Regions from separate parts of the Homo sapiens genome. Here regions 1 and 3 are each linked to region 2. The links are contacts of gene promoters, found by promoter capture Hi-C in blood cells and fetal thymus (Javierre and others, 2016). All regions are on one chromosome and are shown on one strand. Each heading gives the region's core, a stretch centred on a gene start or on the middle of the fragment in contact. The rest is flanking DNA. Distances are from core to core; before and after follow the strand shown. Region 1 overlaps NRBF2 (nuclear receptor binding factor 2). Region 2 holds the start of ZNF365 (zinc finger protein 365). Region 3 overlaps LINC02625 (long intergenic non-protein coding RNA 2625).

The links. The method cuts DNA at HindIII sites, captures the fragments that hold promoters and counts their contacts. A CHiCAGO score of 5 or more calls a contact.
Region 1: a fragment that was not itself captured here is called in contact with the fragment with the promoter of ZNF365 in region 2 in 1 of 17 cell types (naive B cells); the score reaches 6.5 in naive B cells.
Region 3: a fragment that was not itself captured here is called in contact with the fragment with the promoter of ZNF365 in region 2 in 1 of 17 cell types (neutrophils); the score reaches 5.1 in neutrophils.

Annotation. Positions count from the first base shown.
Region 1 is chr10:63,143,681-63,146,380 of GRCh38, forward strand. NRBF2 (nuclear receptor binding factor 2) reads left to right here. Exons shown (of 4, transcript NM_030759.5): 2 at 2,529-2,613. Among named protein-coding and RNA genes, the nearest start is that of NRBF2, 12 kb to the left of the region's middle. The HindIII fragment of the contact is 215 bases long and covers 1,204-1,418 here.
Region 2 is chr10:62,372,995-62,375,694 of GRCh38, forward strand. It overlaps ZNF365 (zinc finger protein 365), which reads left to right and starts at 1,375. Exons shown (of 5, transcript NM_014951.3): 1 at 1,375-1,464. LOC283045 (a long non-coding RNA gene) reads right to left here and starts at 2,133. Exons shown (of 4, transcript NR_104162.1): 1 at 1,877-2,133. The HindIII fragment of the contact is 2,300 bases long and covers 1,014-2,700 here.
Region 3 is chr10:61,856,663-61,859,362 of GRCh38, forward strand. The region is part of intron 2 of LINC02625 (long intergenic non-protein coding RNA 2625); the gene reads right to left. Among named protein-coding and RNA genes, the nearest start is that of LINC02625, 9.9 kb to the right of the region's middle. The HindIII fragment of the contact is 7,953 bases long and covers 1-2,700 here.

The DNA of each region.
Region 1 (2,700 bases), core at 61-2,560, 770 kb after region 2:
ACCTCAGATGATCCACCCGCCTTGGCCTCCGCAAGTGTTGGGATCACAGGCATGAGCCACCATGCCCGATTTTTTTTTTTTTTTTTTTTTGAGACAAGATCTCACTCTGTTGCCCGGACTGGAGTGCAGTGGTGCGATCACAGGTCACTGCAGCCTCCATTACCCAGGCTCAAGTGATTGTCCTACCTCAGCCTCCTCAGTAGCTGGGACTACTACTACAGGTGCGAGCGCCACACCCGGCTAATTTTTGTATTTTTTGTAGAGATGGGTTTTCACCATATTGCCCAGGCTTGTCTCAAACTCTTGAGCTCGAGTGATCTGCCTGCTTTGGCCTCCTAAAGTGCTGGGATTATAGGCATGAGCCACAGCACCCAGCCACTTTTTACCTTTTTTAAGTGATGTAAAAAACACGTGAAGTTTACCTTCTTAATTATTTTTAAGTGTACAGTTTAGTAGTGTTAAGTATATTCGCATGGTTGTGCAACAAATGTCCAGAATTTTTTCATCTTGCAAAACTGAAACTATGCCGTTTGAATACCTACTCCCCATTTCCCCCTCCCCTGTTCAATGATGAGTTGTTCCACCATTCAACTTTCCTGTTTTTAAGAATTTGACTACTTTAGATACCCAATAAGTCGATTTGTATAGTATTTGTCCTTTTATGACTGGCTTATTTTATTCAGTCTAATGTCCTCACAGTTCATCCATGTTGTAGTATGTGTCAGAATTATCTTCCCTTTTTTTTTTTTTTTGAGACACAGTCTCGCTCTGTCACCCAGGCTGGAGTGGAGTGGCGCGATCTCGGCTCACTGCAAGCTCTGCCTTCCGGGTTCACGCTATTCTCCTGCCTCAGCCTCCTGAGTAGCTGGGACAACAGGTGCCCCCCACCACGCCTGGCTAATTTTTTTTGTATTTTTAGTAGAGACGGGGTTTCACCGTGTTAGCCAAGATGGTCTCGATCTCCTGACCTTGTGATTTGCCTGCCTCGGCCTCCAAAAGTGCTAGGATTACAGGCGTGAGCCACCGCGCCCGGCCAGAATTACCTTACTTTTAAAGACAGTACCTTTCCATTGTGTGTGTATACTGCATTTATCCATCTATCTGTTGATGGACATCTGGATTGCTTTCACCTTTTGGCTGTTGTGAATAATGCTGTTATGAATATGGGTGTACAATGCTTTTTGCTTTTTTGTGAAGCTGTGAAGCTTTGCTAAATCGTGTGTGTTTGTTACTGAGGAAAATCGTTACATGAGGTAGAAAACTTTAGCTGATTATCTCTGCCTTTCTCCTTGCTAGTTAAATGTATAATCTTATGTAAGTTACACGACCTCCCCATCAGTCTTTTGGGCCTCCTTATGTAAGAGAGGAAAACACATTAACAAAGTCGTAGTTAAAGCAGCTGAAATAATGTATATTAAAGCTTTTTTTTTTTTTTTTTTTTTTTGAGATGGAGTTTCACTGTTTTCACCCAGGCTGGAGAGCAATGGCATGATCTTGCCTCATTGCAACCTCTGCCTCCCAGGTTCAAGCAGTTCTCCTGCCTCAGCCTCCTGAGTAGCTGGGATTACAGGCGCCCGCAGAGACGGTGTTTCACCCTGTTAGCCAGGATGGTCTCGATCTCCTGACCTCATGATCTGCCCGCCTCGGCCTCCCAAAGTGTTGGGATTACAGGCGTGAGCCACTGCGCCCAGCTAATTTTTGTATTTCTAGTAGAGATGGGGTTTCACCATGTTGGCCAGGCTGGTCTTGAACTCCTGACCTCAGATGATCCGCCTGCCTCAGCCTCCCAAAGTGCTGGGATTACAGCCATGAGCCACTGTGCCTGGACTTAAAGCTCTTTTGAAATTATTAAAGTGTAAGGAGGCCAGTGACTGCTTATTTAATAAGTTTTCCTTCAATTACATTATTTGCTGTTAGAACTTCTGATTTTTTTGACTTTGTTCTTTTGATGAGATATCTTTAAAACAATCTTTGTAATATTAGATGTTGGTATCATGAATTCATCAACTGCAATGTCCAAATTTTTTATTTTAAAAACAAATAGTAACTTTAATGTTGAAAGAATGAGATGATAGAAGAGAAGCTTGGATTTTACTACATGATGAGTGATTTCCTGATTATAGTTTTTAGACTATACAGATTAGTGAAAGTATCTACAAAATAGCTCTTGTTTTGAAAGGAGCTTGTTAAAAATCAAGAAAATAGACATTTTGAATAACAATCTATGATTGTAACTCTTGGTTTATCTCCAAAGAGTGGAAGAATGTGAGTCACTGAAGGAGTTAAGTGCCTGGTGTTAACCTTGAGAGGGCTTATGGTAGAAGTGAAAGAAGTTGCCAGTTCCTTTCAGATGCTGCAGTTCTAGGCTCTACCCATTACATTTCCCCAGCTACAGATAGAGCTGTAATAGTGATTTGATATGTGGCAACAAAACAGTATTATTTATCTTCTTAAAAGGTAGTTGCTTTTTGAAAGAAATCATGTTTTATTTTATGATCCAGAGGAACTTAGGGATGTTTGTCTTCTAGGCTCATCAACAGAGCAGACGAGCAGACCGTTTATTAGCTGCAGGCAAATACGAAGAGGCTATTTCTTGTCACAAAAAGGCTGCAGGTGAGTATTCTTATTAAGTACTCAGTGTAAAACTGAAGAGCAGAAAGTCACAATAGTAATAATGTGTGTTGCTTTTCATATGCAAGA
Region 2 (2,700 bases), core at 125-2,624:
TGTGTAGGCCCCTTTTTTATGGAATTAATAATAATTATAAATGAAGTAGCAACAACGATAACAGCTGACTTTATCAGTGTGTGTCCCTGTCAGGCAGGGTTTTTACCTCCATCATCATAGCACATTCGATCCACCGCTATATTAAGAGGTAGGTCTTGATTATCTTCATTTCATAGATGAGGAATTGAAGGAACAGAAAAGTCTAGTTACTTGACCCAGGCCCTAGAACCAGGATTTGAATCAAGTCTGATGCCAGAGCTTGGGATCTTCATTGCATTTGATGTGATAATTCATTTGTGAAAAAACAAAGCAATTCATTTGTTTTCATTTGTCAAAAACAAAACAAAATTTCAACTAAGATAACTGTTGAGCTCTTTACCGTTAAAATAAAATCGGGTGTTGAAATGAGTAACAGCAAGCCTTGAGAAAAGACACCCTGAGAAGTCAAGAGGATGCATTAACTGTCTACAGATGAACAGAATCTCTTCTCTTCTTTGAACAAGAAAACCCAGCAGTAACTTTTATCTAGGTTTCACATTTCAGGAGTTACAGTAGGGGTAAACCAAAACAGGTTAAAAAAAAAAAAAAAAAAAAAAAAAAGCAAAAGCCCAGCAAGCTGAGACATCAGAGTCCTTCAGAAGGAATGATTTGCCGTCTTCTCTTCAGGACATCCCCTCTTTAGGAGGACAAATTTTTTCTCCAGGGAAAGGGGCGTCCGCCTCAGAAATGGGGGTGTAGGTGAGGGATCTTGTTGCTTTAACTGTTTGTTCATTAATCCCTGCACTTTACTAGATTTAGTTCTGCCTGTTAACGTAGCCTCAGGACACTTGGCTAGGAAGGCTGGAGTGTACTCTCTGGGTTAGTTATTTTGGGACATTCTCGCCCTGCTGCTTGGGATGAAGAGGTCCTAATTAAATACCCGGACCTTCCAACGGGTAGATTTTCAAAGAAGATGCCCAGCTATGCTGCATCCTCATCCACACTCTCCCGCTCCCCCCAAACTAGTGCAAAAAAGCTTGCCAGGGCCTGCAGAAAGCGCCGCGACTGCGAGGCTGACACGCGTCTTTCCTTCCCTCCCCCGGGGAATGATCCCAGCATCTCTCGCAGTGATGTCAGTGTAATCCTGAGTCGGATCGGGCTCCCGGCTGGGTGGCGGGGGGGCAGATGATGCTCCCGCCAGCTGGGCAGAGCAAGGGTGTTCCCCGCGGAGGTGGCAGCCCTGGGCCGCGGCGTTCCGGAACCCCCGCACCCACGGCGCGGTGCCCCACGGTGCCCGCGAGCGCCGCCCCCGCTGGCTAGCCGCGCCTCGCTCCGCCCTGGACGCCGCCGGTCCCGGCGCGGAGGTGCGGCGGGGAGTGGGAGCCGGCCCGGCTCAGTCTGATTTACGGCTCTGCTGAAAACCGCTTCGCTCCCGCAGCATCAGCACCGGAGGCGGCGGCTGCAGCAGCAGCAGCAACAAGTCGGGTAAGAGGCGGCCGCCGGCCATCTGCGCCCGCGGCTCGGCGGAGGGGACCTGCCGGGGTGGCCGGGGCTGGGGAGGGGGTCCCCGAGCCCGCAGCATGGCGGGGAGTTGGGAGAGCCGGCTTCCCGGCCCCCACCAGCAGGAACTCATGTGCACACGAATCCACTCTGGCACCCGTGGGCTGGCACGCAGCGGAGAGGGGGCGGGGAGAGCTGGGACCCCGGGGCAGGGTCATTGCCAGCCTGCCCTTCTCTGGCAGAGTCACTTAGGGCTCTTCATCAGCCCAGTGGACTGGGTTTCCTCTGGGCCCATAAAAGCCTGCGTGCTCTGGAGTGTGTGATTACCCATTTCCCCATCCAAAATGCCACCCTTTTCCCATTGCCCCCTTAGAATCCTGACTTCCCCTTTCCTTACCTCTTGTCAGCGTCTTTGGCCCTATGCTGAGCCAGGGTTTGCATCTCGTTCCCAGAAAACCAGTGGTTAAACATCCCGGTGTACCCATCACAGGAAGAGGTTCCCCTCTCTGGGGGCCGGGGGCTTCACCTAGAAGCCTTGCCTGCCTCGCTGCCTGGGGACCATTTGCACCTCTGCTTTTGAAGAGGTTGAGGACACTTTTCACCCAAAGACCCCAGCTGGGCTCCCTCATTTCGGGTCCAATGCTTGTTACATTTAAGTAGAAACCTTTCATGGAGGAATAGAAGATATGCACTGCTTGCAGAATTGGGTTGCCAACAGTCATCTGTTGCTAGGGTGAAGATAATGCATTCCTACAAGGAAACCAGAACTTCCTGTTATTAAGAGAGTATGCTGATACCTACCTGGTTCACACACTGACCATCCCTAGAGGTTGTCATATAAAATAGCATCTGAGACAAGACAAATCCGTCCAGAACACTCTATTATAATAAAAATCTTGGCCATGGCCCCACTTATGCCAAATGGTATTTGACACATTGGGTCCCCAGGTTTCAGTGAAACTCACGTATGGGGTCTGTTATTGTTACGATTAGCACTTTGGTTTATGTCATCACAGCAATACCTGAAGGAAAAAAAGGCAAAAATTTCAGGGTGAAAAATTTTCAGCTGATTGCAGGCTTAATGCCACTGTGCATAGCTTGAGTAATCTTTCCTGTACTTGAGGATAGGTCCTGAGCTTGCTGTCTTAGGACCCATTTTGACAATTCATGTGAGTTTTCATATGTTCTTGTGTTCACGCATCTCGGATTGTATCCTTAAAA
Region 3 (2,700 bases), core at 51-2,550, 520 kb before region 2:
CTATAATCATACCTTAAAAATAAATAAGTAAAACTAATTATTTAATATCACCATTAGTCAGTGCCCCCTATATGCACACAATTTTTATTTAAGTAGGATCCAACTCTGCATCTCTGAAGCCTCTGTTAATCTATAGAGTTCTCCTTCCCACCTCCCTGACTGGGACGAACCATTTCAATTTGCCTGGGACTGGGTGGGTTTCAAGATTCCATACTTACAGTGCTACAACCAGGAAAGTCTTGGAAAACCAGGTACGAGCTGGCTCTACTCTTTTCCCCACCCCTTGCCAAATTATTTGTCCTGCAGCACTTCCCACAGTCTGGATTTTGCTAAGTACATTCCCATTGTGTCATTTCTTATGTACCTTTATCCCTTGTATATCCTCAAAATTGGTTATTAGGTCTAGAAGCTAGATCACATTCAGGTTTAATATTCTCACACACAAAAAGCAACCTTCTTGGGTCATAGTATGTGTACATACACACACTATTTCAAGTTGTCTCTTTTCATGTGTGATCTTGGCAGCCATTGGGATTGTTACCTAGACATGTTTAAGTAGTAGTTTTCTAATTCTACACCTGCTTCTTTCTTTATTAACAGAAATACTTACATAAAGAGAAACTTTTTCTCTCTTGGTTACCCTGAGACATAGTCCTTAGAAGGTTCTGAGAGGTGAATGGCAAACAATGTCTCTAGATGTTTTTCTAAACATCACTCTGACTCTTGTGAGAACAGCAGCTATTAGGGAGTTACAAATAGGATCAAGAGAATGGTAGAGAGGCTGTGTTCTAGAAGAGAGACAAGAATGTCTTGAACTAGGGTGGGAGCAGTGGAGTTGAGAAAACATGGTCAGATATGGGATGGAGAGTCAATGCTGAGAGGTTAGGTATGGGGTGCTAAGGAAAGAGAAGAGATAAGGATGACCCCAAGGTTCTGAGTAACTGAGTAGGTGAGGGTGACATTTGCTGGGATGGGGAGAATGTGAGAAGAAACAGGTTTGGGCTTAGAAGAGATAGCATATAATAAAGTGAAACAAAATTGCCTGAGTTGTAAGAAAAGATGTGCAACTATTCTAGAGGATCTTGATCTAAAACTCAAGAGATGCCCAGACCACTGAAAATATGAGTCTTTTTTTTATTTTTAAATTTGTGTTCCCAGTATCAAACAAGTTAACTCTTCTAAATACTTGGAGGATACTCTTTTTCCAGCCTATCACCAAGGCCATTTGTCAGAGCTGTGGCTTCCGGAACTCATGAATGCATCATGAGGGTGAGACATCAAGTCCAAATTTTTACAAACACCACATTCACACTCTGTGTAAAGCACTCAAAGCTGTTACCACAAATCAATGTCATCTAGAGACTAAACTAACATTTGATGACAGCCAAGAGCAGCCACTCTTCTCCCTGTTGATGTGATTTCCTTTCCGGGTCCACCTTAGAAGGTTGTGCAGTTATGACTCTAGGAAACACCATTCCCATTGTGGTCTGTGATAGTCCTTCCCATTGAAGTCTCACCTCTCCAGGAAAATCCTGAAGGAGAAAGTGAAAGGCAACTCATCTAGGTGTAGGTGGTGGCTGCTGTCTACACAGCCAGAGAAGCCCTGAGCAACTCCTCTTCCTGAAAAATGACTCTCCTGAAACATCTTACTTTAATTATTCTGTTGTGGGCATCCTTTTTAAACACAAAATGCCATTACTCCTATATTCATAAACTGAAAAAATGTCTTCATCTAGAGCTCCTCTAAAGGTGATCTTCCCTTCCCACTTTTGTTTGATGTCATGTGACTTTTTGAATTTTACCATCTCTGGTAGGGGTGGGCCAGCAGATATCACTGGGAGAAGGAGAAAAAGCAAACACACTGCTCCATGCTTCTCAGCCAGAAAATATGATACACTGTTTGTTACTATGGAGAGTGAAGGAGTGATGTGGGTGAGTGCATTCATAGATTTATTTGTAAGCTGATTTATACTGATGAGCCTGCAAGCGCCCCACCATGGAATGAGAGGCAGTCTTCGGGAGAAGAAGTGGTACTGAGCTATAAAATATCACAAGGGAAAGATAATAGCAGTTCAGAGGCAGATGACATTTTACTGTCAATGAAGCCTTTTCCCTTCATCTCTTGAATCCTGCAGCTACTTTATGAGTTAGGCAGGGCAGGGAGTGTGAACCTCATTTCAGAAATGAGAAAGTTTGAAGAGGAAAAGTGATTTCCTCACAATCCCACTGCTTATAAGTCACAGAGTGAAGTGGCATATCCATGTCTTCTGACCCCAGGGCCTACAGGTGGGAGTGAGCTTCTTGCTTAACCAATAGTGAGTGGTGGACTTCAGCTTCAGTGGGGTAGATACTTCAGACATTAGTCTTTCTCAATATCCCTCTTCAAAAGTGGTGGTGTGAGCAACCATTACTACCAGTGAAATATGCCAATGTAAGCCCAAAGCTATTGCCTTGTATTCCCTGGGAACATCTTTTCTGGAAGGCTGACATCAATCAGAAATGGCCCTTTGAAAATGTGGTAAATATACATCATGGAATACTACTCAGCCATAGAAAGAAACAAAATAATGTCTTTTGCAGCAACTTGGATAGAGCTGAAGACCATTGTTTTAAGTGAAGTAATTCAGTAATGGAAAACCAAATATCATATGTTCTCACTTAAAGTCCGTGCTGAGTTATGAGAATGCAAAGGCATAAGAG